7 separate regions of the Homo sapiens genome follow, and all the other regions are linked to region 3. Evidence: promoter capture Hi-C in 16 types of primary human blood cells and fetal thymus (Javierre and others, 2016). All regions are on one chromosome and are shown on one strand. Each heading gives the region's core, a stretch centred on a gene start or on the middle of the fragment in contact. The rest is flanking DNA. Distances are from core to core; before and after follow the strand shown.

Region 1 (3,627 bases), core at 598-3,097, 350 kb before region 3:
CACTCGATAGTACCTAAGAGGCAATAGTAATTTCATAGTTTTGCTCTACGAAGAGAAACTTCGTTTCTCAAGAGTCCTTAAAAATACGGGTTTTACCAAAGAAGCCCATATTATGGGGGGCTGGAGCGGGGGTGGGGAAGGAGGAGAGGAGACTGCTGCTTTCAAGTAGTTCTTAATGTTGAATTTGCTTTTTTCCTTTCCTCAATTACTTCAAAAAGGTCTTAATTTGGATTTTTATTTTAGGTTCTAAAGGAAAAAATAAAACCCTCTTCCCTCTACCGCCTCACCTGTCTGGTTTCACCAATTAGACTTGAACAATTCTCAGTGTGCAACCACACTCGCGCTCGCACACAAACACATACACACATTGTTCATTGATCGACAATCCCCATCTCATCTTTATCATGTTCTTAGAGAAGTTGGGTCTCCATTGTTAAGGATTCTCCTAATCACAAAAACTGACTATATACCTATCCCCAATCCAATCATTAATAAGGGGCATGTGATCTTTAGGATAGGTGTAGTCAAATTAATCAGATCCCTGAGGCTAGAAGGAACTCTGCCTTCTCTGGAGAACAAGTCAGGGAACAAAGAAAGTTGTATTAGGAAGAAAGGAGGGAAAATGACTTTTGGGGAGGAGGCATCTGCACTGCCTGATACAAGCAGCTTCCAGGCGAAGGTGGATGGAAGGAATATCCAGTAGGTTGAAAATGGATAGTCATTCCTTCATATTCAAGTGCCAAGCAGTGAATTTTGTACTGAGGACTTCTGCACTGAGAATAGTGGTTCTCAGACTTCAGTGTGCATCAGAATCACCTGGAGAGCTTGTTAAAGGAGATTGCTGAGATAAAGAATATGCTAACCAAGCCTCCTGCTCACGTGGAGTTTTCTTGTGATAAAGATGTGGGAGAAGATTGTGAAGAGTCTGAATGTCAAACAATGAAGTTTAGATTTATTTTGCAGACAATAAGGTTATAGAAAGCTTGTGAGCAAGGACTAACAAAATTATAACTAGTTCTAGGAATATGCTTCTGGTGGCAAGAGACTGGATGCAGTGGAGGGAAATGATGTTGAAGGAGGATAAAGTTTCAAGCCAAAGAAATGGCAGGAGTAATGGAGCAGGGGATACAATAAACAAATCAGAGAGTAGTTGAAGGGATTTCATTCAGTATTTCATCAAATATTGATTGCATTCCCTCTGTGCCAGGCATTGAAATACTTCAGTGAGCAAGATAGACAAGAGACTGCCCTTCTGAGGCTCATATCCTAGTGAAGGAAGAGAGATGATAGACTGGGCATGGTGGCTCACGCCTGTAATCCCAGCACTTTCGGAGGCCAAGGAGGGCGGATCATCTGAGGTCGAGATTTCAAGACCAGGTTGTCCAACATGGCAAAACCCTGTCTCTATTAAAAATACAAAAATTAGCTGAGCATAGTATCACAGGCCTGTAGTCCCAGCTACTTGGGAAGCTGAGGCAGAAGAATAGGAGAATTGCTTGAACCCAGGAGGCGGAGACTGCAGTGAGCCAAGATCACACCACTGCACTCCAGCGTGGGTGACAGAGGGAAATTCCATCTCAAAAAAAAAAAAAAAAAGAAGAAGAAGAAGAAGAATATAGGTCTATTTCACTCAGCAAATGGTAACTCACTCCTGTTCAATGTATTATTTAGTATTATGTCTGCGATTCCTCTCTATCTTTAAATTTGGGATCTCTAGATCTCAGACCCTGAAATCCTAGACTTCTGGTTGTTGACAGGAATCCATGGAGCCCTGGGAGTTCCTTGAGTTTCTGAGAATAATGAGCCTCATAAAATGTCTATGTTCATATGTCTATTTTCAACAGATTCTCAAAGGAGTTTTTGATCCATCTATTACTACAAACTACTCTATTTTTTTTTTTTTTTTTTTTTTTTGATACAGAGTTTTGCTCTTGTTGCCCAGGCTGGAGTGCAATGGCACGATCTTGGCTCACCACAACCTCTGCCACCTGGGTTCAAGCGATTTTCCTGCCTCAGCCTCCTGAGTAACTGGGGTTACAGGGATGTGCCACTATGCCCAGCTAGTTTTTTATTTTTAGTAGAGACAGGGTTTCTCCATGTTGGTCAGGGTGTTCTCGAACTCCCAACCTCAGGTGATCCCCCTGCCTTGCCCTCCCAAAGTGCCAGGATTACAGGTGAGAGCCACAGTGCCCAGCAGAACCACTCTTGAAGGGAAGTCAGCCCATTGAAATATACAGGTTACCACTGCTGAAGACATATAGACTATCTAGTCTACCCATTGATAACTTTTTTTTTTTTTGAGATAGAGTCTCACTCTGTGACCCCAAAGTTGCTAGGACTACAAGCATGTGCCAGCATGCCCGGCTAATTTTTGTATTTTTATTAGAGACGAGGTTTCTCCGTGTTGGCCAGGCGGGTCTCAAACTCCTGACCTCAAGTGATCCACACACCTTGGCCTCCCAAAGAGCTGGGATTACAGGCGTGAGCCACGTGCCTTGCCTGATCTCTAACTTGTAATCAGCCCCACTCTGTTCTGTCTATAATGGAACCCAACAGAGGTGATACCAAGTCGACAGGCTCATTTGGCATCAGCTTTTCTGTAAAGAGCTTTCAGGTCAATGGAAGGACATTCCACAATACTAAATAAGTTTAGTAACAAAACTGAATTTTGTGTGATAAAGTTATGCTGCTTACAAAGAGACTCAACAATAAATAAGCTTAAAGACAGATATTTTTGTTTCATGGAACAAATCCATTGTGATTAGTCCAGCTTTGTGAAGCAGCTCTGCTCCTTGTGATCAATCAGGAAATTTCGTTCCTTCCAAGTCAATGTTCTGTCATCTCCTAGGGCCTGATGTTCTCTAATTGCTCAAAATGAAATCAATACCATTATACTTGGGGAAGAAGGTAACATGGAAGTTTCAAAGCCCAGACCTGGTAGTAACTTTTCTATGTGTCTCACCTGTGTTGGAAATAATGTAGCCACATGCTTACATCTGCTCCCAGAAAGACCAGGAAATGTTGTCTCTTGCTAGATAGCCACCTGTCCAGCTTTCTTTTTATTATGATAAAGTGAAAAAACTTTATTGGAAAAATAAGGGTTTACTCAATATTCTCCACAAATTAAAATCCATTTTGAGGACAGCGAATAATACAGTGGCATACTGATAGTCCTGCGATTGTAAGGACTGGAGTAACCCACTAGGGAATGGCTTACTTATTTTTGTCTCATTTCCTGAGGTGTAAAGGGAAAGAAGGTGGGAATTTAATCATGACAACCTCGGTTTTAAACACCCATTCATGCAACCACAGTAACCTGATCTATGATTTAAGGTAAAATGACTTCTGTTAATAATAAAGTCTAAGACTATTTAAGATAAAAGGACAACAAAAAAAGAACTCGTTCAACATACCTTTAAATTGGCCACGGGTACATAAATAAAAAGTCCTTTTAAATTCAACAATAGAAAATCAGTAGATCTGGATGGAAGGCAGCTCAGAGGAACAGAACCAAACAAGTTGGCCTCTCCCCATTCCACTAAAAAATGTTGAATCTTATGTACTTTCATGGTTGTTTCTCCCACGGTAATTACTACTTTCTTCTTTAAAGAATGTATTTGCCAGTCA
Region 2 (4,002 bases), core at 20-2,519, 430 kb before region 3:
AAGAACTCAATTTGGGGCAGAAGAATGTAATCAATTATTTCAGAAGTGATACAAACAATATGACATGTAGAGCATTCTGGCCTTTCCTGGGTCTTTTTTCTCCATTCCTGGATTTCTTCTCTTCATGTGAGCAAGTCTGAGGTTACTATATAATGTCTCTCACAGGCCACAGCCCCATTCTAAATATTCCCAATAGAAATTCATTTATTAACCAGAGAGTGGTGGGTGGGGTTGTTTTTGTTTTTTAAACAAAAGTGGATCTTATGGGCATTCTGGAAAGCTCCCGCAGGAAGCTAAGAATAAAATTTTGAATTGAGAAGTCCCTTTCTTCAAACCACATTCAGACCCAATTCTGCTATTCTATTTATTTTTCAAGGGGATTAGCCTTATTTTAACACCAATAATCTTATCACAAAAACCTCCCAGAGGAAGACCCTGTAGATTTTGTAATGACCTTAATCAAGTATTAGCCCTACACTTCAATTAATCCCCAACTGTACAAAACGAATGTTCTTTTCTCTAAAGCTGTAGCAAGTTGAAAGGGGATTAAAAACGGAGGGAAGGGAAGAGTGTTTGGAATTTCAGGCACAGCAAACAGGCACAGCAGACCAGGAAGAGCGTCCCGGGAAAACATATTATCCAGACTTAAGTTTATATTCCCTGTCTCTCTCAGACTTTTGCAGAAAAATGAGTCATTCAACAAATATTTGAATCGAGATAGGGAAAGTGACGAGGAAGAAGTTTGCACTTATGAGGTTTTAATTTGCAATTATTTGGCTACCTTTTTGCCTTCCCAAAACATAGGGTCTTTAGGAGTGAAACTTCATAGCCAAACTTATACCTTGTCCAGCACAGAGAAGGCCATCAAAATGCCTGGTTTAAATAAAAATATTAAAATGATTGGGAGGGTAAATCCCTTGACCTATAAATCTGACCTCCTTTAAACATTATTTGTATGTTCCCCAATAAACTATTCCGTAATTTATTAGTTAGCAAGTGGAAATAAAAAGAAATGTGGAATGGGGCTATGCTTAGCGTCATTAAGCTGACAGGAATACAGCGCATTCAACTTGCAAACACCCTTCCACTCCCACAAAGAGCAAGCTGTCACTGGCCAATCAAAACAATGAACCATAATGAAACAGTTTTTCTTGCTCCACCCACTTGGTGACCAAATTTGAAAAAAAAAAAAAACCGCGCCAACTCATGTTGTTTTCAATCAGGTCCGCCAAGTTTGTATTTAAGGAACTGTTTCAGTTCATACCTTCCACTGCGATAGGAATCATGTCTGGTCGCGGCAAAGGCGGAAAAGGCTTGGGGAAGGGTGGTGCTAAGCGCCATCGTAAGGTGCTCCGGGATAACATCCAGGGCATTACAAAACCGGCTATTCGCCGTTTGGCTCGGCGCGGTGGCGTCAAGCGCATTTCCGGTCTTATCTATGAGGAGACTCGAGGTGTGCTTAAGGTTTTCTTAGAGAACGTTATTCGAGACGCCGTCACCTATACGGAGCACGCCAAGCGCAAAACTGTCACAGCCATGGATGTAGTATATGCCCTAAAACGTCAGGGGCGCACTCTGTATGGCTTCGGCGGCTGAATCTAAGAATACGCGGTCTCCTGAGAACTTCAAAAAACAAAAACAAAAAAACCCAAAGGCCCTTTTCAGGGCCGCTCACAAAGTCGTTTAAAGAGCTGAAATGCGTTGCGAGAATGAGTTTGGATGACAGAAATAACCGTGACATCCTGCATAAGAATGAATTGTGTTTGCCATGACCGGCCACACTGTGACAAAATTTCAAAGCATAAAGTAGGCATAGAGAGGTAAGCGCTAATAAAGTGATTGGCTCCACAAAAAGCATTTTGCTGGGCGCAGTGGCTCACGACTGTAATCCCAGCACTTTGGGAGGCCAAAGCTAGTGTATCACTTGAGATCAAGAATCCGAGACCAGCCTGGCCAAAATGGTGAAACCCCCTCTACCAAAAAAAATACAAAACTTAGCCGGGCGTGGTGGTCTGCACCTGTAGGCCCAGCTAGCCCGGAAGCAGAGATTGCAGTGAGCCGAGATCGCGCCACTCCCCTCCAGCCTGGGAGACAGAGAGAGACTCCTCAAAAAAAAAAAAAAAAAAAAAAAAAAAAATTATGTATTTTAGAGCATTCTAAGAATGGTACTTTGGACTTAACCGAAGGGCTGGAGGCGCGTGTTGAACAAAGGTTATCACCTTTTGGCTCATGCGGCACACAGCTATGTAAATAAAGCATCTTTAGGGACAAGCTCTCATTTGCGGAGGGTTCTATGGCTGTTGTCCTATTGGCCAAAACAAAGTGGTCTAAGTCCGGGCGCGGTGGCTCACGCCTGTATTCCCAGCAGTTTGGTAGGCCAAGGTGGGTGGATCACGAGGTCTGGCGTTCAAGACCAGCCTGGCCAAGATGGTGAAACCCCGTCTACTAAAAATACAAAAATTAGCCGGGCGTGGTGGCGGGCACCTGTAATCCCAGCTACGTGGGAGGCTGAGCCAGAGAACTGCTTGAACCCAGGAGGCAGAGGTTGCAGTGAACCGAGATTGTGCCACTGCACTCTAGCCTGGGTGACAGAGCGAGGCTCCATCCAAAACAAAACAAAACAAAAAAGTGGTCTAATAATCCCCAGAACTGGAGGAAGAACCATAACTTATTGATTTTGTTTTTAACCTTATGTATGCCAGGCATGCTAGCCTTGTATACATACAAGGCTAGAGGAGCAAAGGTGCAGGAAGCCATCTTGAGGGAGTCCCATATTATTGAGAGACCGGCCAGCTGCTGGGAGAGGCTAGTTGTTCATCCTCACTGTATGTGATGAGAATCTGGTGACAGTCCATTGCTGGGCACAGCATTTAGGCAAAATGGCTCTCTGCTATGTCAGGCAAGTGAGGCATATTTTTGCACAATCCTAGTAATTCCGAACTCATTGGGAAACAATGGCAATTACATCCAAGCAAGGAAAGGTCTGTGGTTGATTTTATCTATACAAATTTAAAACATAATGTTTACAACCTTTCATTATAGGACACAATTTTTAAAAAGATGCCAAACTATACAAATAAGTTCAGAAAAGTGAGGTACTATTGAACCGTCTGGAAAACATAAATGTATGTGAAATAATGCAATGCATAGTTTTGCAGGGGACTTTGTTCAAAGTTTCTCGAAATACCATGGTCCAAAGTAGACTAACATTAGCATTGGTTATTTATGATGATCAGTAAGAATACTAAATCAAAAATCAAAGGAAAATTAAACTATGTCTGTTTAAAGAGAAACGTAGTTTACCTCAGACTGAGAGTTAAAACAAGTTTGTGATTCAGGAAGGTGGAATTCAGAACCTAATTGGGCAGCCTCCAACATTTCCATTAAGGTTTGGATTCTTAAAATTTTTCAGTCTTCGGTATGCTCTGGTAGTCTGATGAAACTTACAGATTCTTTTCATAAATAAGATACTTAAAGTAATTCATAGGGTTACAATTGTATTAGACCAATAATATTAAAATAATTATCAAACCACTTGACCGTAATATGTGTGTTTTTGTTGATATACCTAATAGTACTTCGGAAATAAGCAAGCACGATTTCCAGATTCTTGCAACAACTATAACCTACAAATTTGTTATTTCTATCAGTCACACACAATGGAAGAAAATTCTAAATTTCAGCTACAGGATAATGAATAGATGAAAAACAACAACAACAACAACAACAAAAAAACTCCCCTAATCCATATTCTGGGACACCTTGATTCCTATTTATTGATCCCTTGAAGTCAGTGGATAGCATATTAAGAAACAATAGTTACAATGACACCACAGAAAGACTAGAATGTAGTACTTGTGTTAAAAAAAAAAAAAGTATCAGCAAGTTATGTTTGGATGCCAAATTGCTCTCCACTTCCCTTCCCTGACACTGGCATTTCCAGAACTTAGATGCTCTTACATGTAAAAGCCTCCTCTAGTGCACCATCGAGCTTTTCAGGAT
Region 3 (4,038 bases), core at 1,411-3,910:
CGCCCACCTCGGCCTCCCAAAGCGCTGGGATTACAGGCGTGAGCCACCACGCCCAGCTGAAAGCATTTATTGTAGTGAATATGGCTAAGAAATTTGAGGCACCCAAGGGAGGTCTTCAAAGCCTGCAAAACACAGATAAATTTTTATAGACAAACACTAAGGAGACTGAATGTGGACAGAGCCTACAGCCAGCTGGGTTAAAGCTCATTTTTAAGGTGCTAGGTGGGACCTGTGACTTCCAGGGATGCTCTAGCCTGACCAGCATGGAGAAACCCCGTCTCTACTAAAAATACAAAATTAGCCGGGCGTGGTGGAGCATGCCTGTAATCCCAGCTACTTGAGAGGCTGAGGCAGGAGAATCGCTTGAACCCGGGAGGCAGAGGTTGCGGTGAGCCGAGATCGCGCCATTGCACTCCAGCCTGGGCAATAAGAGCAAAATTCTGTCTCCAAAAAAAAAAAAAAAAAAGTTTTGGTAACCTATTTTAACATAATTAGTTTTCTTTTGAAATCTTACATATTTATCTTTTCTTTCGTGTATTTAAAAGTATTATTCTGAGATAGAGTCCAGAATCACCAAGCTGCCCTTGGGGTCCATAGTACAAAACCTAACGAGAAGATCCCTATGCTATTGCCTAGGGAGTAATCCATAACCTAGGTCTACCTTAATATTTATGCAGAAAGAGCAGAATATTTTTTGTAACGGCTGTTGAAACCTTATGAACTGAAAACAAATATTTTCTAATCTCAAAGTGTATATTCTCAATATCAGGCAGTTTTACTTCTGTTTAGTAGACCTCATCTTATTTAAAATGCTCACCAGGCATGGGGATGATTTATTCTCAGAAATATGGACAAACTAAAACACACACATATGAGACGTTTGTTTGCTTTCAAAGTGAAAAAGTGAACATTCATATGAGTGTCCGGGTTGATGATGCTCCTTATAAAGCTGTCAAATTCTGAGATCAAGGCCCTGCAGTAGAAGCAGCATGCAGTGAGGAGGCCTAGCACAGTTTCGCTTAGTAAAATATTTGAAGAAAAAAAAAAAAAGACCCACAGAGAGACAAATGAAAACTCAGACCACGTCACCGTACAACGGCTTCCAGTTTCCTACAGAATACCAGCCAGAGTCCTTACAAGAGCCTGTAAAGCTGGCCAGAGTCCTTACAAGGGCCTATAAAGCTGGAGGTGGTCTCCCAGGATCTCCTATTCCTCTCCACTGAGCACCGGCCTCCTCAACATAACTCCCAAGCCTGCTTCCACCTCCAGGCCTTTTCCCTAGCGATTTTTCCCTGTTCCAGATCACTCATTTCCCCGATATCAGCATTTATCCCTCATTCATCACTTTCACTGCTGGCCTTTCCTATCCTCTTTCCCTGTTTTATTATTATTTTTCTCCAATCGCTTATCACTATTATTTTGTTTATTTAATGCTTTATTATCCGCTTCCGCCACTGCCATGTAATCTTGAGGGCAAGGGTCTCTCATGTTTTCTTCACCGTTATCTGCAGTGCCTTGAACACTAATACTGGTTGAATGAACGAACGCATTAATGGAGCGGTGATATTGGGGCAGAGAGGATGCAGGGCTTGCTTTTCACCGCCATTTTTCAGCCGGCAGAGACAGACCGAGAAAGGAATGAAGGCCACGGGGCGTGTGCAGAAGTAGCTACCAGAGAGTCCATGCGCTGCGAGCCTGGACCAGCGGGCAAACGCGGCTTACAGGCGTTCACCCAGATATTACGGGTACAACCTAGTTTCTTATGAAATACCTCGCCCCTAAGGTACGCGCAGGGCCAGTGGCGCAATGGATAACGCGTCTGACTACGGATCAGAAGATTCCAGGTTCGACTCCTGGCTGGCTCGGTGTAAGCAGGGTCGTTTTACAACTTTCTGACTCCGCAGGAGTAAGGAAATTCCTGCAAGATAAATTTGCCTGGAAGACTCAGAAGCAAGAGGGGCAGCTCCCGACAACATATGGGGTTATCATTTCTTTGCGGAGCATTCTGCCACTGACCACGTGGTAACGCCAACTACGCCAGAGAAACGCTCGCCCTACCCAAGTTGTGCCCAGCCTTGCCTGGCCATTTTGGCCGAAGAACGAAGGACCGTTCAGAGATTAAATTAAAGTCTCTATTGTGTTCTTCCCTATTCAGTCATTTGTAGAATAAATTCTATGGCTTCAGTTTGAACACTGGAGGGGCTGGGTCTGAGCTTTTCATTGGTTTTTCTGGTTTGAGAGGTCGGTACAGAGACGCACGCGCACATCAGCAAAACACGCACTTGGAACGAAGAAACACGGAACTAGGCAGGAAGAACTATTTACTCTGAAAAATAAGCCCTTAGTGGGTTTCCGTAGTGTAGTGGTTATCACGTTCGCCTCACACGCGAAAGGTCCCCGGTTCGAAACCGGGCGGAAACACGTTTTTTTTTCCTCATCTTACTACGAAATTCTTCCAGTGTGTATCTTTTAAAGACTTTTTCAGGCTGTCATAAATTTCCTGTCTTCTTGTCTTGCTAGATCGGGGCAGCAGTGCTTAGGGCGGGCCTCAGAGGCTCACACACGTATCGCCAGGGGGAGAACCAGCTCTCTCCGGCTTGGACTCGGGGCGGCTCCCCGCCTGCAGCCCCGGAAGCGCATCCTCACCTTCCCTCGCCTTCCTGTTCCTGGCGGAGCCGGGCTCCGCTCGTCTTCTCTGTCTTAGGGCTGGTGCTGGCCCTGCCCACGCCTAGGGCTCCGGCGCGTCACGGGCCTCAGCTGGGATTCCCGCGCCCCTCGGACGGCCACGAGACTCGGGTAAGTGCCTCACAGACTTTGTGCGCTACCCCGGAAAATGAGGGGCGTGGTGGGGGGGGTCCCGCCGCCCTCCGTATACTTAGGACCCTCCTGCCAGCTGGCCCCGGTCATGATTAGGGGCCTTGGGCCCCGTCAGCCCCGCCTGTCTTCCCGTCTCCAGAGTAATCGCAGCATCTCTCCTGAGCTCCGAGTGTGAATCCCTGGGAAAAGCTGAATCCAGAGGTGGGGTCACAGAGAGCCGCAGGCCCGACCGGGATGAGAAGTCCTAATCGGCGTTCTAGGGGCGTTCTAAAAGAAGGAAGGAAGGGGATTTGAAAGGATTGCTCCCGCAGGGCTGTGGCCTTAAAGAGGTGGTGACTGGCAGGTTGGACTGACCTGCCGTGGGCTCTCCCTTCCTCCCCAATTTACCTTCGAGAAACCCTCGTTGAGGAGACACCCAAGGGCTGAGTCCTCCTCCACTTTGACCTTTTGCTATTCCATCACAAAGAAAAAATGGATCCCAAAGTTAAGAAATGGACCAGCACTTGTTTAGAATCAGGACTGGTGCCTTGGTGTTTGGCCTCTTACCTCTGCCACATGGCTTGCTTACAAGTTAATCGGATTAATCAAACGCTTTTATGAGAAAGTTTTGTTGTGTCACCTGGCAGCCTCGGGTGTTCCCTAAGAGGGATTTCTTTCTTAGATGTATTACTACTTTTTCTAGGGATTAGCCAAGCCTAGCCTCTCAGATCATATTGCTCCAGGTTCCCTCAAATGACTAATAAGAATGTGATGTGTTTGTTTTTGTTTGTTTGTTTTTGAGACGGAGTCTCACTCTGTTGTCCAGGCTGGGGTGCAATGGTGCGATCTCGCTCACTGCAACCTCCACCTCGATTCTTGTGCCTCAGGCTCCCGAGCAGCTGGGACTACAGGTGTGTAACACTACACCCGGATAATTTTTGTATTTTTAGTTGGAGACGGAGTTTCACCATATTGGCCAGGCTGGTCTCAAACTCCTGACCTCAAGTGATCCGCCCGCCTCGGCCTCCCAAAGTGCTGAGATTACAGGCATGAGCCACCGCGCCCAACCGAATGTGATATTTTTATGACCATGAGAAAAGAAGGGCTGCATTCTTTGGTGGGTCCGCAAAATTAAAAAAAAAAAAAAAAAAAGAAAAGAAAAGAAAGAAAAGGACAATGTTAATGAGCTGTTTTCTTTTTATCATTTTCTTAAACAGGCTGCTTGGGTAGACGTTGACTTGA
Region 4 (3,885 bases), core at 131-2,630, 490 kb before region 3:
AGATAATAATGTTGATTCTTGCAAAATATAGTAACTAAGAAAATTAATCCTTTATCACAAACTTGTAGCAGAGCACATCTCCCCATATATACAAGTATTGTACCTAGGGTGGATGCCTTCCTCCTCTTACTTTCGGGAATGTCCTGCTCCGTCTATGGAGTAGTTGTCGTTTCACCACTTTACTTTCTTAGTAAACTTGCATTTACTTTGCACTGCGGACTCACCCTGAACTCTTTCTTGCGCGGGATCCAAGAACCCTCTCTTGGGGTCTGGATGGGGACCTCTTTCCTGTAACATATTTCTGGCCACCACAGAAGGGACTATAGTACAGAAACCCTGACCCAACAGCTACCTTTGGGTAAGTGTTGGAGTTCTGTAACAAAGGAAGAAGGCAGGCAGGCAAAAAATTTATGAAAGAACATACGACAAAATAATTTCTGCTTCAAAACTTCATATTTTTTTAATTTTTTTTTTTTTTTTTTTTTGAGACGGAGTCTCGCTCTGTCACCCAGGCTGGAGTGCCATGGCGCGATCTCGGCTCACTGCAAGCTCCGCCTCCCGCGTTCACGCCATTCTCCTGCCTCAGCCTCCCGAGTAGCTGGGACTACAGGCGCCCACCATCACGCCCAGCTAATTATTTTGTATTTTTAGTAGAGACGGGGTTTCATCGTGTTAAGCAGGATGGTCTCCATCTCCTGACCTCGTGATCCGCCCGCCTCGGCCTCCCAAATTGCCGGGATTAAAGGCAAGAGGCACCGCGCACGGCCCCGTCCAAGTTAACCTTGGCTCTAAAACTTGTCTTCGCTAACATTCCAGTTGATCCTCTAGAACTGAAACAGAATAGCAGCAGCACCACCTTAAGAAATTGTGGTTATAGCTCTCCTTGTGACAAAGTAGGTGGCTCTGAAAAGAGCCTTTGGGTTTGGAAGTGCTTACATAAGCACTTATTTAGAGCTAGTGTACTTGGTAACTGCCTTAGTGCCCTCGGACACAGCATGCTTAGCCAGCTCCCCAGGCAGCAGCAGGCGCACAGCCGTCTGAATCTCCCTGGAGGTGATGGTCGAGCGCTTATTGTAGTGAGCCAGGCGAGAAGCCTCGCCCGCGATGCGCTCGAAGATGTCGTTGACGAAGGAATTCATGATCCCCATGGCCTTGGATGAGATGCCGGTGTCGGGGTGGACCTGCTTCAGAACCTTGTACACATAGATAGAATAGCTCTCCTTGCGGCTGCGCTTACGCTTCTTACCATCCTTCTTCTGCGCCTTAGTGATAGCCTTCTTAGAACCCTTTTTAGGGGCTGGAGCAGACTTAGAGGGTTCAGGCATTGCTATTCCTAAACAGAATAGAAAAGCTACTAACACTCTCCACTACAGAGTAGTACAGAGAACAGTTCAGAGCCCATGTATTTATAGTCCTGAGATTCAAATGACGGTTTAAGATTCCTCACTTCTGATTGGACAAAAGAAACACGGTTTCACTGAGGGGTGGGGTTTATGCAAATATGGAATTTATGTTATCTTTTTCTATTGGATAAAGCACCAAACATAATTGACCAATAGGATAGCTTCCTATTGCAGCCTTGCAGTTTGTATAAAAGGATTTGTTCAGGCGCCATTCCAGCTTGCTTGTCTTTCACAGTTTTCCGCTGCTTTCATAGGTCGCTATTTGCGGACGTGGAAAATGGAGCTAAAGCAAAAACTTGTTCGTCGCTACCGGGCTTGCAGTTCCCAATAGGGCAGAGTCCGTCATCTTTTTCGAAAGGGCAATTATTTTGAGCCGGTCGGAGCCGGTGCGCCAGTGTACTTACAATACCTGGCCGCCGAGATCTTAGAACTGGTGGGCAGCGCCATACGTGACAAGACCCGCAGCATCATCCCCCGCCACCTGCAGCTGGCCATCCGAAACGACGAGGAGGTCAACAAGCAGCTGGGCAACGTCACTATTGCTCAGGGAGGCGTCCTGTCCAATATTCAGGCCGTCCTGTTGCCAAAATAACAGAGCCACGATAAGGCCAAGGTCAAGTAAACACTCAAATCAGAAAACGTAGCTTACACTTGAAACGGCATTTTTCAGAGCCGTCCATAGTTACACAAGAAAGGATGATAACTTGCTTCTGTTAGGGTATTTTTTGCTTTTCGTTTGGATTGGTTTGTTTTGAGACAGTCTAGTTCTGTCACCCAGGCTGGAGTGCAGCGGCGCGATATCGGCTTACTGCAACCTCCACCCCGCCGCTTCACGCGGTTCTCATGCCTCAGCCTCCTGTGTACTTGGGATTACAGGCGTCTGCTACCGCGCCCAGCTAGTTTTTGTATTTTTATGCGAGACGGGGTTTCACCATTTTAGCCAGGGTTGTCTTGAACTCCTGGCCTCTAGTGATCGTCCCATCTCGCCCTCCCAAAATGCTGGGATTACAGGCGTGAGCCACCGCCCCCCTAGCCTAATGGTGTTAAAAAGTTAAGTTTCGAGAAAATAACACCTTCCTTTAGAAAGTACATTTTAGAGTATACAAAGTGAAACTTAAGGCCAACCAAAATAAGACATTTTGAGAACAGGCAGGGTGGGAATGTGACTTGGACTTAGAAAACAAAGGGCAAGGAAACTTGCTGTTCGCCAGTAACAAAATAGCATGGAATCTCATTCTCTGAATATAAGCGTTATTTCCCGACATGAGTCTGAACGTTTCTGGTGGTTTAGTGAGTGTTCACCAGCATTGATAACTTGCGAGACTGTCAGGAATGCAGAATTTCAAGTCCCACTCAAACTTACTGAATCGGAATTTACATTTTAAAAATCCTTAGATACCTTGTTATACACTCTGTTCTTTGGGACTGGATGAACTAGAATTTTAGACAATTTGTCGCTGCAGATAACTGAAACGAAAAGGACAGGATGGGCGGTGGGGCAACTCATCCAATAAGATTGTCTAGTAATGAACCAATCAGTCTGGTCACTCTTCAGCCAATGATTTTATCGCGCGGGACTTTTGAAATATTACAGGACCAATCAGAATGTTTCTCACTATATTTAAAGGCCACTTGCTCTCAGTTCACTACACTTTTGTGTGTGCTCTCATTGCAAATGGCTCGTACGAAGCAAACAGCTCGCAAGTCTACCGGCGGCAAAGCTCCGCGCAAGCAGCTTGCTACTAAAGCAGCCCGTAAGAGCGCTCCGGCCACCGGTGGCGTGAAGAAACCTCATCGCTACCGCCCGGGCACCGTGGCCTTGCGCGAAATCCGTCGCTACCAGAAGTCCACCGAGCTGCTGATCCGGAAGCTGCCGTTCCAGCGCCTGGTGCGAGAAATCGCCCAGGACTTCAAAACCGACCTGCGTTTCCAGAGCTCTGCGGTGATGGCGCTGCAGGAGGCTTGTGAGGCCTACCTGGTGGGACTCTTCGAAGACACCAATCTGTGCGCTATTCACGCTAAACGCGTCACCATCATGCCCAAAGATATCCAGCTGGCACGTCGCATCCGTGGGGAAAGGGCATAAGTCTGCCCGTTTCTTCCTCATTGAAAAGGCTCTTTTCAGAGCCACTCACAATTTCACTTAAAAACAGTTGTAACCCATTCGGTTGTCTATGTTAGTTTCCAGGAGATATAAAGGTGATAACTACACACAAGTTTTGTAACTGCAGACAAGTCTATCAGGCCTTTTCAACCGGTTTTACTGCGAGAAAACAAGCTGAGTTACTGTTTTGCCCTTGTTAAAAAATTCCTAGGGGTCTTTTTAGCATGTATATGTGTAAATACTTACATATTGAAAGGCTCCTGGGGACACCACCGTCACTCCTTTTAATCCACGTGACAATTTTAGTTCTGATGGCAGTATTATTAAAGCTATCATAAAGACAATGTGTGTGTAGTTACCTAAGTCCACAAAAACAAT
Region 5 (3,931 bases), core at 1,308-3,807, 310 kb before region 3:
CTTAAGGTCAGGAAATCGAGACCAGCCTAGCCAACATGATGAAACCCCGTTTCTACTAAAAATACCTCCACCCCACCCCCCCCAAAAAAATAAGCCGGGCATGGTGACAAGCACCTGTAACTACAGCTACTCTGGAGACTGAGGCAGGAGAATCGCTTAAACTCGGGAGGTGGAGCTAACAGTGAGCTGAGATCACCCCACTGCACTCCATCCTGAGTGACAGAGCAAGACTCCTTCTCAAAAAAAAAAGAAAGTCAGTCCTCAGCAGCAACAACCACATTTCAAATGCTCAGTAGCCACAACTGGTTTCTGACTGTTTTATCACATAACACAGATCCTATGGGAAATTGTGTTCAGGTATGGAAATAGTGATGGAAATTACTGATTAATACAAGTGAGCTGCTAAGTTCTTATGTAATCATGTAAATTTTGCACTGACTTCTAAAATAAAGCTTTACACATATTTAGAGATGAGGATTATGAAAGGAACTGAAGGTAGGTTCCAATGGCAAAACACCGGATTGACAGATTTAAGAACACTGGGGAGGAAATAGAACTATGGGGCATAAAGATGGAATTTCCTTAATGGTTCTCACTGACTGTGACCTAAAGTTTATCTTTTGATTTTGGAAACATTTTTTAGATGTAGATATTAACATTCTAATAATAGAAATGAAAAAACTAAAATGAAAATGAGAAAACAGAAGATAATATCAATAAACAGGTCTTGGGCCTCAGAAGATGAGATGTAGGGAGTGTGGAGAGGAAAAGCACAGGGGGTGCATAGCTCTCATTAACAAACGGCCCAGCCCACAAATACGTAATCATATTATACAAAAGGATTTCAGTTCTTCCCTTGCTTCCTATGAAACAATTTTGCCAACATACCTAACCGTTTTACCGTGATTTAAAGTGTACAGAATTTTCTTTTTCTGAAAAGGAGAGAAGCAAGGGACTCATATATATTTCAGATGTGAGATTGAAACGCACGACAATGTGTAATTTCAGTCAAGACTTGCCCACGAGTCCTAAGATAATTCAAATTTGCAAAATAGACACTAACTTGAAAGGTGCAATTGTATCAATCCTGTGGTTAGCAGAATTTTGATGAATGCCCTAAAATAGGGCAGGTTTAACAGAATTCAGGGAATGAGCAGGAATGCACAAAGCATCCTTTGTCTCCTCTCCACTCCAGCTTGCAGACATCCGCGGGCATTTGCGGGCAGTGATAAATTTGGTTTAGCCGTTTCCCCTCCCTGGAGGACGGGGGCTCCAGCATATTCATGATGTCAATCGCCTTGGACTACATGCCAGCGTCATTGCGAACCTGCTACACTTTACAAAATAGCTTTCCAATGAGAAAGAAAACCTACTGGGAAAGAAAAACAAAAAGAAACTAGACCTTGCAACGGGCACGCACGCGCACTATCCCTCTCTGAAATATTTATAGTACGCTTACACAAACGCGAACTTGTAAATCAAAACTCTGCCTGAACCAAAGTAGCCAATAGATTAAAAGTATGTAAATTAGGAATTCCCAAACTGCTCTTTTTATTGGCTAGGAAAAGAACACCTTACAGGGAATCCGATAGGTTAATTCACAATAGTGTTAGGCTGTAATGTCATTCTTTAAGAATCTTTTCCAGTAAACATTTGTTACTTTTTCAAAGTAATTGGGAGCTGTTGAGTGTGGAAGCGAAAACCAAGTTAAGAAGTCCTGTTATTTGGGTGAGTCCAGTTCCTATAAAAGTTCTGTTGGATGTGTCTTAAATTGTTCGGTGCACCTCAGCTCTCTCCCGCAGGGATCCGGAGAAACTGCGCCATTGTTGTCTTACAGAGAAACAACCTTCTAACACTCTCTTCGCCGCCATCTTTTTCAAGATTTTAAATTGAAAATACTTTTTTTGACGGCTCTTGCCATTATGTCTGGACGTTTTAATTTCAACAAAACGAAATAATAGTGTTAAGTTCTTTGAGTCAAACCCGATATTACAGAGGTAGGGATTCCAGGATATTAGAATTTTACTATAACACAAATGAAACACAAAGTTCCTTATGCTTAACAGTGTATCTTAGAAAACCTTGTTTGAGTGAATTAGCCTTGTACTCTATAATGAAACGAGGAATCATTGAGAGATACTTAGGCAACGGATTTTAAATGAGTGAATAAGGAAGGGAAAAACTTCAGGAAAATGCAGAAAAAAGCAGCGGAGATTTTGGAAAAAAAATTCTAAAGCACTTTCTAACGCAAACACATTCGATTTTTTATAGCTAAACAGGATAACAGATCAGTCTATTAAGTTAAATGATCAATGTCTTTGCAGGTCATGGTCTACGTGAAACATCAAAGAAACCTGTAACGGAAAACGACTTGTTTGAAAGAGCCAGTTCTCTATCCAAATTTACCAATCAGAATCTTGCACTGAAAAAATAAACCAATCGTGAATCTCTACGGCCACTTCCGGAATTTAGCAACCGATCACTAACAGGGATCGTCCACAATCCAATCAGAGTGATTCTGTTCCTATATAGAGGGGCAAACCAATCTTCCTAACTCATTTACTTTGCAGATGAACTATGGCGCGTACTAAGCAGACGGCTCGTAAATCCACAGGCGGTAAAGCACCGCGCAAACAGCTGGCCACTAAGGCAGCTCGCAAGAGCGCTCCGGCCACGGGCGGCGTGAAGAAGCCCCATCGCTACCGCCCTGGCACCGTGGCTCTGCGCGAGATCCGTCGCTACCAGAAGTCTACCGAGCTTCTAATCCGGAAGCTGCCGTTTCAGCGCCTGGTGCGAGAAATAGCTCAGGACTTCAAGACCGACCTGCGCTTCCAGAGTTCCGCGGTGATGGCGCTGCAGGAGGCCTGCGAGGCCTACTTGGTGGGGCTTTTCGAGGACACCAACCTGTGCGCTATTCATGCCAAACGCGTGACCATCATGCCTAAAGACATCCAGCTTGCCCGCCGCATTCGTGGGGAGAGGGCGTGAATTGTTTTGAGTACAAACCTTAAATCCAAAGGCTCTTCTCAGAGCCAACCACTTTGTCCGTGAAAAGGGCTGTAATCCTTTGAGACGCATTAGACCACTAAACTGCACTGATCCAAATAGACATTTGAAATAGTGGCATTCAGTTCCCTCGATGCTTCATTTAAATTTCCAAATTTAAGCGCTCCCTCAGGTTTTCGCCTAGGGCTGGGCCTCCCTACGCTGTTCTCCATTGGTTTAGCTGGCTTTGTTTTGCTGTTCAGGCCCTCTGCTGCTTTCTTGTACATTGTTCTCGTTTTCTAAACTCCTGGCCACTTAATTGTACCCTGCTTAACCCATCCTCTTGTTTTCTGGCTCAACGCTCTTTCATGTGGTGGCCTGCATTTTAGGTCTTAACTGCATAGGCTTTCAACGCCTTGGTTTTGCCTTTCCTTGATGTTTATTTGACCTTGCCCGAGGGGCCAGCGCTTTTGATCTGCATCAGGCTGCCTTACTCCACTAGTGTTTTGAGACCCAGCTACTTGCCGGCGACGGTCGGTGCCTTGGGTGCGGTCAACGTTACTCTCTGTGCGCCTGATACTGGTCTAAGGCTAAGGTTATTAGCTGGAACACCTAGACCCGTGGCACTAACACACAGCTCTTGCAGACTTGACAGCCTTGCATAGGTTCTAAACTGCAGGAGTCAAAGCAACGAAGGTGCAGATGGGTGTGTCTCAAACCTGAGTGCGAAAGGAAAATGCAGAAATCATGAGCCTTTTCAACTTTCCAGTTGATATCTTTTGTTTGCTTTTTTCTTTTCTTATTTATTTATTTATTTATTTATTTATTTATTTATTTATTTATTTTGAGACGGAGTTTCGCCCTTGTTGCCCAGGCTGGAGTGCATTGGCGCGATCTCGGCTCACCGCAACCTCCGCCTCCCGGGTTCAAGCGATTCTCCTGCCTC
Region 6 (3,809 bases), core at 308-2,807, 330 kb before region 3:
CCCAAATCAAAGGCCCTTTTCAGGGCCGCCCACAGTTTTCCGCAAAAGAGCTCATGACTTGTTAGACGATTGGTTGGTCTCTTTATAAGTTAATTGTTCCTGTCAACAGGTACGTATATTTTTCAGCCGTTTTTTTTTTTTCGTTCCAAATTACATTTGGGGTTTCGGCATACGATTTTTTAGGCTACGATCCTTTTATGTTTATTGTAGTAGGGCCTTAGATTGCACTGAAAAGGCTAGGGTAATAGTGTCTGTTTACCTTACCACTTTTATTTTGAGTACCTAAAAATGCATGGTTTTCGACATAAGTGGGAAAACCGCAAGACACTGCGTAACCGCTCAAAATGGCGGAGAGCGAAGAACAAAGCCGGTGCCTGGCAATGGGCCGGACCCGCGAATTAGCGCAACCAATCATCTTCCTGGAAAGGAGTGTGGGCCTTAAATTCTAGCGGCCTGTTTTCTATTACTTAACCTAACGACCGAGTTTAGGTGTGTAGAAGTTCCTGGGGTAGATAAGCTCACGCAAGGAGAGGTTGCAAGCATTCATTTCGGAATTCTATTAAGCCAACCCAGTTGTCCCTTAGAAGTTATGATATTTGCTGTTTTTTGAATAAAAGAATTTGACTCTCTTTAAACCCTAAAGCTTGAAATTTAGCATTTATCTCACATGAGACAAATGTTTAGGAACTCATGTTTAGGAACTCATGTTCCTGCCTGAGGCAGGAACTGAAACACCAGATCACTTGCATCGAGACCGTGAGACTCCCTATGTTTCATCCATCATGATTGCGTCCTTATCCCTCCCTGATTTCCTGTTTTCTCGCCCTTCTCGCTACATAAGCCCCCCAATTTTGGTCGGGGAGACGGATTTGTGATTTCATCTCCTCCCTCATGAATACTCATAGAATTTTTCCAAACCTACTGAATCTGTATGTAAGGTTGACTCTGTAAGGCATATATATATTCCAGCTCCCCTTCACTGCCACAGAGCGCTCATTCCATCCTGGGATTACTTCTCCCTCTGAAAATAAAGTCTTTGTTACTTCCTGCTTGGATCTCATTGTCTATTGTTCAAAAAAGATATGTCGTCATTCCACAGTTATGCCCCAGATGTCTTGGAGATGTGGTTTGTTTAAAGAAGGATCCAGCCATAACTTCCGTTGTGTCTCCAGTTTTCTTATCTAAAACAGGCTCCTCTCCCCTACTTCCCCATTTTTGAACATTGATTTCTCGGAGACCAGACTTACAGAATGTTTTTGTTTTGCTTTTGTTTTGTATTGGCTTGATTCTTAATCGTTTTACTTGGCTTCTGTACTCCCCATGTCCTGTAAAGTACAAGTGACTTTCATACACTTAATTGAAATCGGGTGAATATGCCTGTCAGGAACAGTTTACAGATGTAATGTACATAGTACACTACATCAGAAACACATGATGTCCGGTTTATGTAAATTCCAAGTGATAGAAAAATCGCAAGTTTGGGCTGGGCACAGTGGCTCATGCCTCTATTCCGAGCACGTTGGGAGGGCAAGGTGGGTCGATCACCTGAGGTCAGGAGTTCAAGACTAGTCTGGCCAACATGGTGAACACCTGACTCTATTAAAAATAAAAAAATTAACTGGGCATGGTGGCAGGCACCTGTAATCCCAATTAATCAGGAGGCTGAAGCAGGAGAATCGCTTGAACCCAGGAGGAAGAGGTTGTAGTGAGCCAAGGTGGTACCACTGCACTCCAGCCTGGGCAACAGAGAAAGACTGCCAAAAAAATTAAAAAAAAAAAAAACCGTTGGTTTAGGGTGATAGTTCCATTGAAAATCAGATTTTTCTTCTAGCCAGCAAGTTGTCCGTAGGCTGATACTTTGAAATCAGGAAAATAAATAGTTACTTTGAATGTCATTTTTAAAAAGTGTGAGCTCGTGCATATATATGAAAAGCATCATGTTATTGGTGCTAAGGCACTAGTTCGAGGAGAAAAAGTTTTATGAGGATGTTAATGTAACAACAGCAACAAAAAGGAGCACATAGCATGTACCAAGCATTGTTCTATGCTCTGGGAATTACAGCAGTGAATGAGAAAGAACAAAACGATATGTGTGCATAGAATTTATATTTATTGGGTGGGGGTACACACACAAAATAAGTGAAACAGTGTGTCAGATGGTGCTGACTGCTATGAAGATCACTGAAGCAGGAAAAGGCATAGCATGTGGAGGGAAGAAGTGATATTTTAAATGATATGGTCTTGAAAAATTTTACTCATAAAGTGATAAAGAAAAAATACATTGAGAAAGTGAGAGAGTATTCTAAATAGAATACCCAGCAGGAAAGCATGGAGGTAAAAAGCAGGTATTATGACTGGAAAAAGGGGCAGAGGTGAGGCAGACAATGGAAGGCAGGACAAGGGACCCCTCCACACTTGTTTACTTGCTGTGCTGACTACAGCAGCACCCAGCTCCATAACCTTGCAGCCACTGAAGCTTCCGCTCATAAAATCAGCCAATCAGACATAAAAGAAATAGAACACTCTAACGACAAACATCCTCGCCATCAGCATAGGGACTTCCAAAAGACCTTCCCCAAATGAACATGTGCTATAGGGACTTTGATTATCCTAACCTAACTTTTGCATCATGTTAATGATAAAATTCATACCCCTGCGTGGAGATTTAAGCTGCCAATGAGACCTGAGACACAGGAAAAAGCATGACAAGGGACTGCAAAGGTGTATCCAACAGACCACCCCAAACATGCCATGATGTCACCTAGACGAAGCTCACAGAAGAATAACAAACTAGACTAGCTTGCTTTCAAGGAGCCAGCTGCAAGTATACCTCTGGTTGCTGTCTCCCTTTCTGCTCAAGCCGAAAGCCCTAATAAACTTCCTTGCTCAAGTCCATCTTAGATTCTTGGTCGATTTCTATTTTCTGAGGGTCAAGAACCCACTGCCAGTATCAGACAGGGTGCAAAGAAAAAGCAAATATGATCTGCGAGGCAAATGGAGACGAGTCTCTATATGGCCTTGCAGACCAGTGTGACTACTGTTTTACTCTGAGTGAGATGGGAGCCACTGCAAGGGTTTGATCGGAGAACTGACATAATCTGATTTATAGACACACACACACACACACACATACACATATATATATATATTTTTTTTTTTTTTTTTTTGAGACAGAGTCTCAGTCTGTCGCCCAGGCTGGAGTGCAGTGGCGCAATCTCGGCTCACTGCAACCTCAGCCTCCCAGGTTCCAGTGATTCTCCTGCCTCAGCCTCCCAAGTAGCTGGGACTACAGGTGTGTGCCACCACGCCCAGCTAATTTTTTGTATGTTTAGTAGAGATGAGGTTTCACCGTTTTAGCCCGGATGGTCTTGATCTCCTGACCTCGTGATTTGCCCACCTCAGCCTCCCAAAGGGCTGGGATTACAGGCGTGAGCCACCACACCGGGCCTGATTTTTATTTTTTTAATGAGCTATCTGGATGCCTGATGAAGAATAAACTATGATGAGACCAGGATAGGAGCAAGGAGACCAGTTCGGAGGGTACCACAGTAATGCAGTTGAGATGGCAGTGGCTTGGACCAGTGTGTTAGTGGTAGAGGCTGTGAAAAGTGGTTGGATTCTATATATATTTTGAAGTAAGGTTCATAGTTCTTTTCTGAGCTACTGAATGTGTAGAGTATGAAAGACAGACCAAAATGTATGGATGATTCCAATGATTTTGCCAAAGCAACTGGAACTGGAGGTATCAATTGCTAAAATGTGGAAAAATAAGGAACAAGTTTTGGAGAGGATTCAAATTCTTAGTTTTG
Region 7 (3,904 bases), core at 1,068-3,567, 380 kb before region 3:
AGGATGAACCACACATACAAACCCATCACAGATGAATGCAAATAAAAAAGTCAGCTCCGAAGTTGGGTTCTGAGCAGTGTAGATTCTACTGCTAAGGCTTGGACTACAAGCCATCGATGCTTACTTGTTCCTGGCATTCATACCATAGGGATTCAAACACCCAAGCTGAGAATTTAATTTAGGCATATCCCAGGCTGGTTTTGTGCCCCTGAGCACCCGGTAGAAACAAATACAAGTCATCTCTGGAAAAGAAGCTTCATTTTACACCTCAACAAATTGCCACAGCTAAAATATCCCCCCAAAAATGCACAAGGAGCTTCACAATCTAAATTAAACATCATGAAACTAGAAGTATGACTAATGAAAACAAAAGCAACAGACAATGGGAGCTGGGCGTGGTGGCTAATGCCTGTAATCCCAGCACTTCGGGAGGCTGAGGCTGGAGGATTGCTTGAGGCCAAAAGTTTGAGATCCTGTCTCTGAAAAAAAAAAAAAAAAAAAAAAGCAACAGACAATGGAAATGAAAAGGGAGAATTAACAAGATACAGACTTGAGGCCAGGCACGGTGGTTCATGCCTGTAATCCCAGCACTTTGGGAAGTTGAGGCAGGCGGATCACAAGGTCAGGAGTTCGAGACCAGTCTGGCCAACATAGTGAAACCCCGTCTCTACTAAAAGTACACAAAAAATTAGCCAGTGTGGTGGTGTGCGCCTTTAATCCCAGCTACTCAGGAGGATGAGGCAGGAGAATCGCGTGAACCCGGGAGGTGGAGTTTGCAGTGAGCCAAGATCGTGCCACTGCACTCCACCCTGGGCCACAGAATGAGACTCTGTCTCAAAAAAAAAAAAAAACAGACTCGAATTGACTAGTGTCTTTTTGAAAAAAGAAAAAGAGGCCAGGCACAGTGGCTCACGCCTGTAATCCCAGCACTTTGGGAGGCTGAGGCAGGCGGATCACCTGAGCTCAGGAGTTCGAGACCAGCCTGGCCAATATGGTGAAACCCCATCTCTACTAAAAATACAAAAATCATCCAGGCATGGTGGCATGCACCTGTAATCTCAACTACTCAGGAGGCTGAGGCAGGAGAATCGCTTCAACCCAGGAGGCAGAGGTTGCATTGAGCCAAGATCACGCAATTGTCCTCCAGTCTGGGCAACAAGAGTGAAACTCCATCTGAAGGAAAAAAAAAGAAACAAAAAGTCTTATAAATATATTGAGGGACTAAGGAAATACCAAAAGTGACCACATAGATTTGAAAAAAGAACCTAATAGAAATTCTAGAAAATAAACATGTAATTATAAGACAAATTGAAATGAAAAGCTTACTGCATGTGTTTAACAGCAGCCAATTGGACCTACCGGTAGAAATTTAATAAACTATGTAATCAGATCTTAAGGAATTATCTGAAATGCAGAGATAAAAATGCAAAAGTGAGTTTAAGAAACCTGGAATTAGGGCTGGGCAAGGTGACTCATGCTTGTAATCCCAGCACTTTCAGAGGCCAAGGCAGGAGGATTGCTTGAGCCCAGGAGTTGGAGACCAGCCTGAATAATATGGCAAACCCCCGACTCTACTGAAAATACAAAAAATTAGCCAGGCATGGTGGTGCGTGCTTGTGGTCCCAGCTACTCAGGAGGCTGAGGTGAGAGAATCACTTGAGCTAGGGAAATCAAGGCTGCAGAGAGCCATGATCACACCACTGCACTCCAGCCTGGGCAATGAGAGTGAGACCTTGTCTCAAATAATAAATAAATAAATGAAAAGAGACCTAGAATTAGTAGTAAAATATGATCTGACGTTGACCTAATCACAGTACCAGAAGAAACAATCAGGGAGAATGATGCAAATGTGAGATTTAAAAGATCATGGCCAATAATTTTCTAGAATGGATGGATTACTAATAATTAAAAATAATATAAGAAAATAAAAATTGAAACCTAATGTATTGCTCATCAAAGCAAGCCTAGGTTAACAAAGTAAATATTTAAACAGAAAAATGATACAAAAAAAGGGAGTCACTATGTGTGCTGTGAATTAATTAAGCTCTCCAAATTTTTACAGATGTAATACTGATTTTCAAAAGATTGTGACTTCTGTTACATATTGACATATGACCTCACACTAAAGCACTGTTTGAAATTCTGCATGTAGGAGGATAATTGGATAATTGGTTATTTACATGAATTTTGTGTCTAGCTAACCTTATCAAATTCTATTAATCCTAATCAATAGTCGACTGACTTGATTTTAATTGCATATAGTACTATTAGCAAATAAAAATGTTCGATATTCTCTCCCATAACTATTTATTGTTTGCTTTAATCATCTTACTGTGCTAGCTACCATCACAAACAATATGTCACATTAGACATGCTACCAGGTATTGTCTTTTTCCTCCTGTTCATAGAAATGACTTCGGTGGTTGATGATTTATAATTGCTTTTGTGTGTATGTGCATGGATGTGTATATGTAGTCTTCATTGTGTTAATGTAGTTTTTGGTTTTTGTTTGTTGTTGTTGTTGTTTTGAGACAGAGTTTTATCTGTTGCCCAGGCTGGAGCGCAGTGGCCGGATCTCTGCTCACTGCAGCCTCCACTTCCCAGCCTCCCGCATTCATCTCAGCCACCTGAATACCTGAGATTACAGGCGCACACCACCGCACTCGGCTAATTTTTTTGTATTTTTAGTAGAGACAAGGTTTTGTTATGCTGGCCAGGTTAGTCTCAAACTCCTGACCTCAAGTGATCTGCCCACCATGGGGTCCCAAAGTGCTGGGATTACAGGTGTGAGCCACCGTGCCGAGCCCGGTAGTTTCCTTCTAATCTTCTTTTAAGATTTTTTATTAGGTATGATTTATGAATTTTATTCGATCACTTTGACTTCTGAAGAAATCATATGCTTTTTCTTTTTTAACCTGTTGCCATGAAGTATAGATAGATTTCTTTGTGTTGATTCATGCTTTTATTCCTAGTCCAAATCTTATTTGGTCATGGTATACTATTATTTTAAATAATACCTGGGTAAATTTTGTTAATATTTTTCATGATTTTTTTCCATTTCTATTTGCATAAAATCATTCTATGATTTTTTTTTTCTTTTAGATTTAGTCTCGCTCTGTCACCCAGGCTGGAGTGCAGTGGCACAATCTCGGCTCACTGAAACCTCCACCTCCTGGGTTCAAACGATTCTCCTACCTCAGCCTCCTGTGTAGCTGGGATTACAGGCATGAGGCACCGCACCTGGCCCATTCTATTATGTTCTATTTTGGGCTTACCTTTATCAAGTTTCATTATAAAAATTATGGTAGCTCTATAAGCTTAACTGTGGGGCTCCCCATGTCTATTATGTTATCTATTGCCGTGTAACAAATTATCCCAAAACTAATTTCTGTGAGTCGGGAATCCAGAAGTGATTTAGCTAGGTGGTTATGGCTCCGGGTCTTCCTTGAGGTTGAAGTCAAGCTGTAAACATAGGCTGCAATCATCCGAATCCTTGACTGTAGCTGGAGGATTCCCTTCCAAGGTGGCACACTCGCATATCTGGCAAGTTCAAGCCGACTTTTGGGTGGAGGCCTCAGTTCCTTGCCCGTTAGACCTCTCTAGAGGGGTAACTGATTATCTTCAAAACCAAACAACTGTTTTCTCTTAGCAGGAGAAAAAAGAAAGAGAAAGGGGAAGGAATAAGCCGCAATGCCTTTTGTGAACAAGATTCGAAACTTACACACTTCTGCCACACTTTTTAAACGTTATTTATTTATTTCTTAGAGACAGAGTCTTGCTCCGTCACCCAGGCTGGAATGCAGGGACCTGATCTTAGCTTACTGCACCTTGGAACTCCTGAGCTCAAGCAATCCTGCCTCAGACTCCCAAGTAGCTGAGACTACAGGTGTGAGCCATTTCCTCC

The links. The method cuts DNA at HindIII sites, captures the fragments that hold promoters and counts their contacts. A CHiCAGO score of 5 or more calls a contact.
Region 1: a contact is called between a fragment that was not itself captured here and the fragment with the promoter of HMGN4 in region 3, in 6 of 17 cell types (total B cells, total CD8 T cells, naive B cells and 3 more). The highest score is 9.6, in total B cells.
Region 2: a contact is called between the fragment with the promoter of H4C3 here and the fragment with the promoter of HMGN4 in region 3, in 1 of 17 cell types (neutrophils). The highest score is 5.9, in neutrophils.
Region 4: the fragment with the promoter of H2BC3 here is called in contact with the fragment with the promoter of HMGN4 in region 3 in 2 of 17 cell types (neutrophils and total B cells); the score reaches 9.8 in neutrophils.
Region 5: a contact is called between the fragment with the promoter of H3C6 here and the fragment with the promoter of HMGN4 in region 3, in 8 of 17 cell types (total B cells, activated CD4 T cells, naive CD8 T cells and 5 more). The highest score is 6.8, in total B cells.
Region 6: a fragment that was not itself captured here is called in contact with the fragment with the promoter of HMGN4 in region 3 in 1 of 17 cell types (neutrophils); the score reaches 5.4 in neutrophils.
Region 7: a contact is called between a fragment that was not itself captured here and the fragment with the promoter of HMGN4 in region 3, in 2 of 17 cell types (neutrophils and total CD8 T cells). The highest score is 6.0, in neutrophils.

What each region holds. Positions count from the first base shown.
Region 1 is chr6:26,184,379-26,188,005 of GRCh38, forward strand. No RefSeq gene overlaps it. Among named protein-coding and RNA genes, the nearest start is that of H2BC6, 2.4 kb to the left of the region's middle. RefSeq lists an enhancer at 3,335-3,627. The HindIII fragment of the contact is 1,735 bases long and covers 981-2,715 here.
Region 2 is chr6:26,102,664-26,106,665 of GRCh38, forward strand. It overlaps H4C3 (H4 clustered histone 3), which reads left to right and starts at 1,270. Exons shown (of 1, transcript NM_003542.4): 1 at 1,270-1,674. The coding sequence starts at 1,285. The coding sequence ends at 1,596. RefSeq lists enhancers at 808-917, 942-1,632. The HindIII fragment of the contact is 10,429 bases long and covers 1-4,002 here.
Region 3 is chr6:26,535,706-26,539,743 of GRCh38, forward strand. HMGN4 (high mobility group nucleosomal binding domain 4) reads left to right here and starts at 2,661. Exons shown (of 2, transcript NM_006353.3): 1 at 2,661-2,796. TRR-ACG1-2 (tRNA-Arg (anticodon ACG) 1-2) reads left to right here and starts at 1,793; the gene lies at 1,793-1,865. It overlaps TRV-CAC1-6 (tRNA-Val (anticodon CAC) 1-6), which reads left to right and starts at 2,349; the gene lies at 2,349-2,421. RefSeq lists enhancers at 358-857, 947-1,611, 2,872-3,281 and silencers at 1,645-1,938, 2,332-2,381. The HindIII fragment of the contact is 7,010 bases long and covers 1-4,038 here.
Region 4 is chr6:26,042,333-26,046,217 of GRCh38, forward strand. It overlaps H2BC3 (H2B clustered histone 3), which reads right to left and starts at 1,381. Exons shown (of 1, transcript NM_021062.3): 1 at 895-1,381. The coding sequence starts at 1,325. The coding sequence ends at 945. It overlaps H3C3 (H3 clustered histone 3), which reads left to right and starts at 3,052. Exons shown (of 1, transcript NM_003531.3): 1 at 3,052-3,537. The coding sequence starts at 3,079. The coding sequence ends at 3,489. It also overlaps the pseudogene H2AC5P. RefSeq lists enhancers at 1,625-1,864, 3,095-3,414. The HindIII fragment of the contact is 16,277 bases long and covers 1-3,885 here.
Region 5 is chr6:26,222,578-26,226,508 of GRCh38, forward strand. H3C6 (H3 clustered histone 6) reads left to right here and starts at 2,558. Exons shown (of 1, transcript NM_003532.3): 1 at 2,558-3,039. The coding sequence starts at 2,578. The coding sequence ends at 2,988. RefSeq lists enhancers at 2,568-3,184, 3,185-3,800. The HindIII fragment of the contact is 11,157 bases long and covers 451-3,931 here.
Region 6 is chr6:26,204,990-26,208,798 of GRCh38, forward strand. It overlaps H4C5 (H4 clustered histone 5), which reads left to right. Exons shown (of 1, transcript NM_003545.4): 1 at 1-32. Among named protein-coding and RNA genes, the nearest start is that of H4C5, 2.3 kb to the left of the region's middle. RefSeq lists enhancers at 1,129-1,208, 1,259-1,358. The HindIII fragment of the contact is 1,833 bases long and covers 642-2,474 here.
Region 7 is chr6:26,160,033-26,163,936 of GRCh38, forward strand. It overlaps H2BC6-AS1 (H2BC6 antisense RNA 1), which reads right to left. Exons shown (of 3, transcript NR_186648.1): 2 at 3,276-3,644; 3 at 242-1,173. It also overlaps a transcript of H2BC5 not described here. Among named protein-coding and RNA genes, the nearest start is that of H2BC5, 3.9 kb to the left of the region's middle. RefSeq lists an enhancer at 539-1,290. The HindIII fragment of the contact is 1,996 bases long and covers 1,320-3,315 here.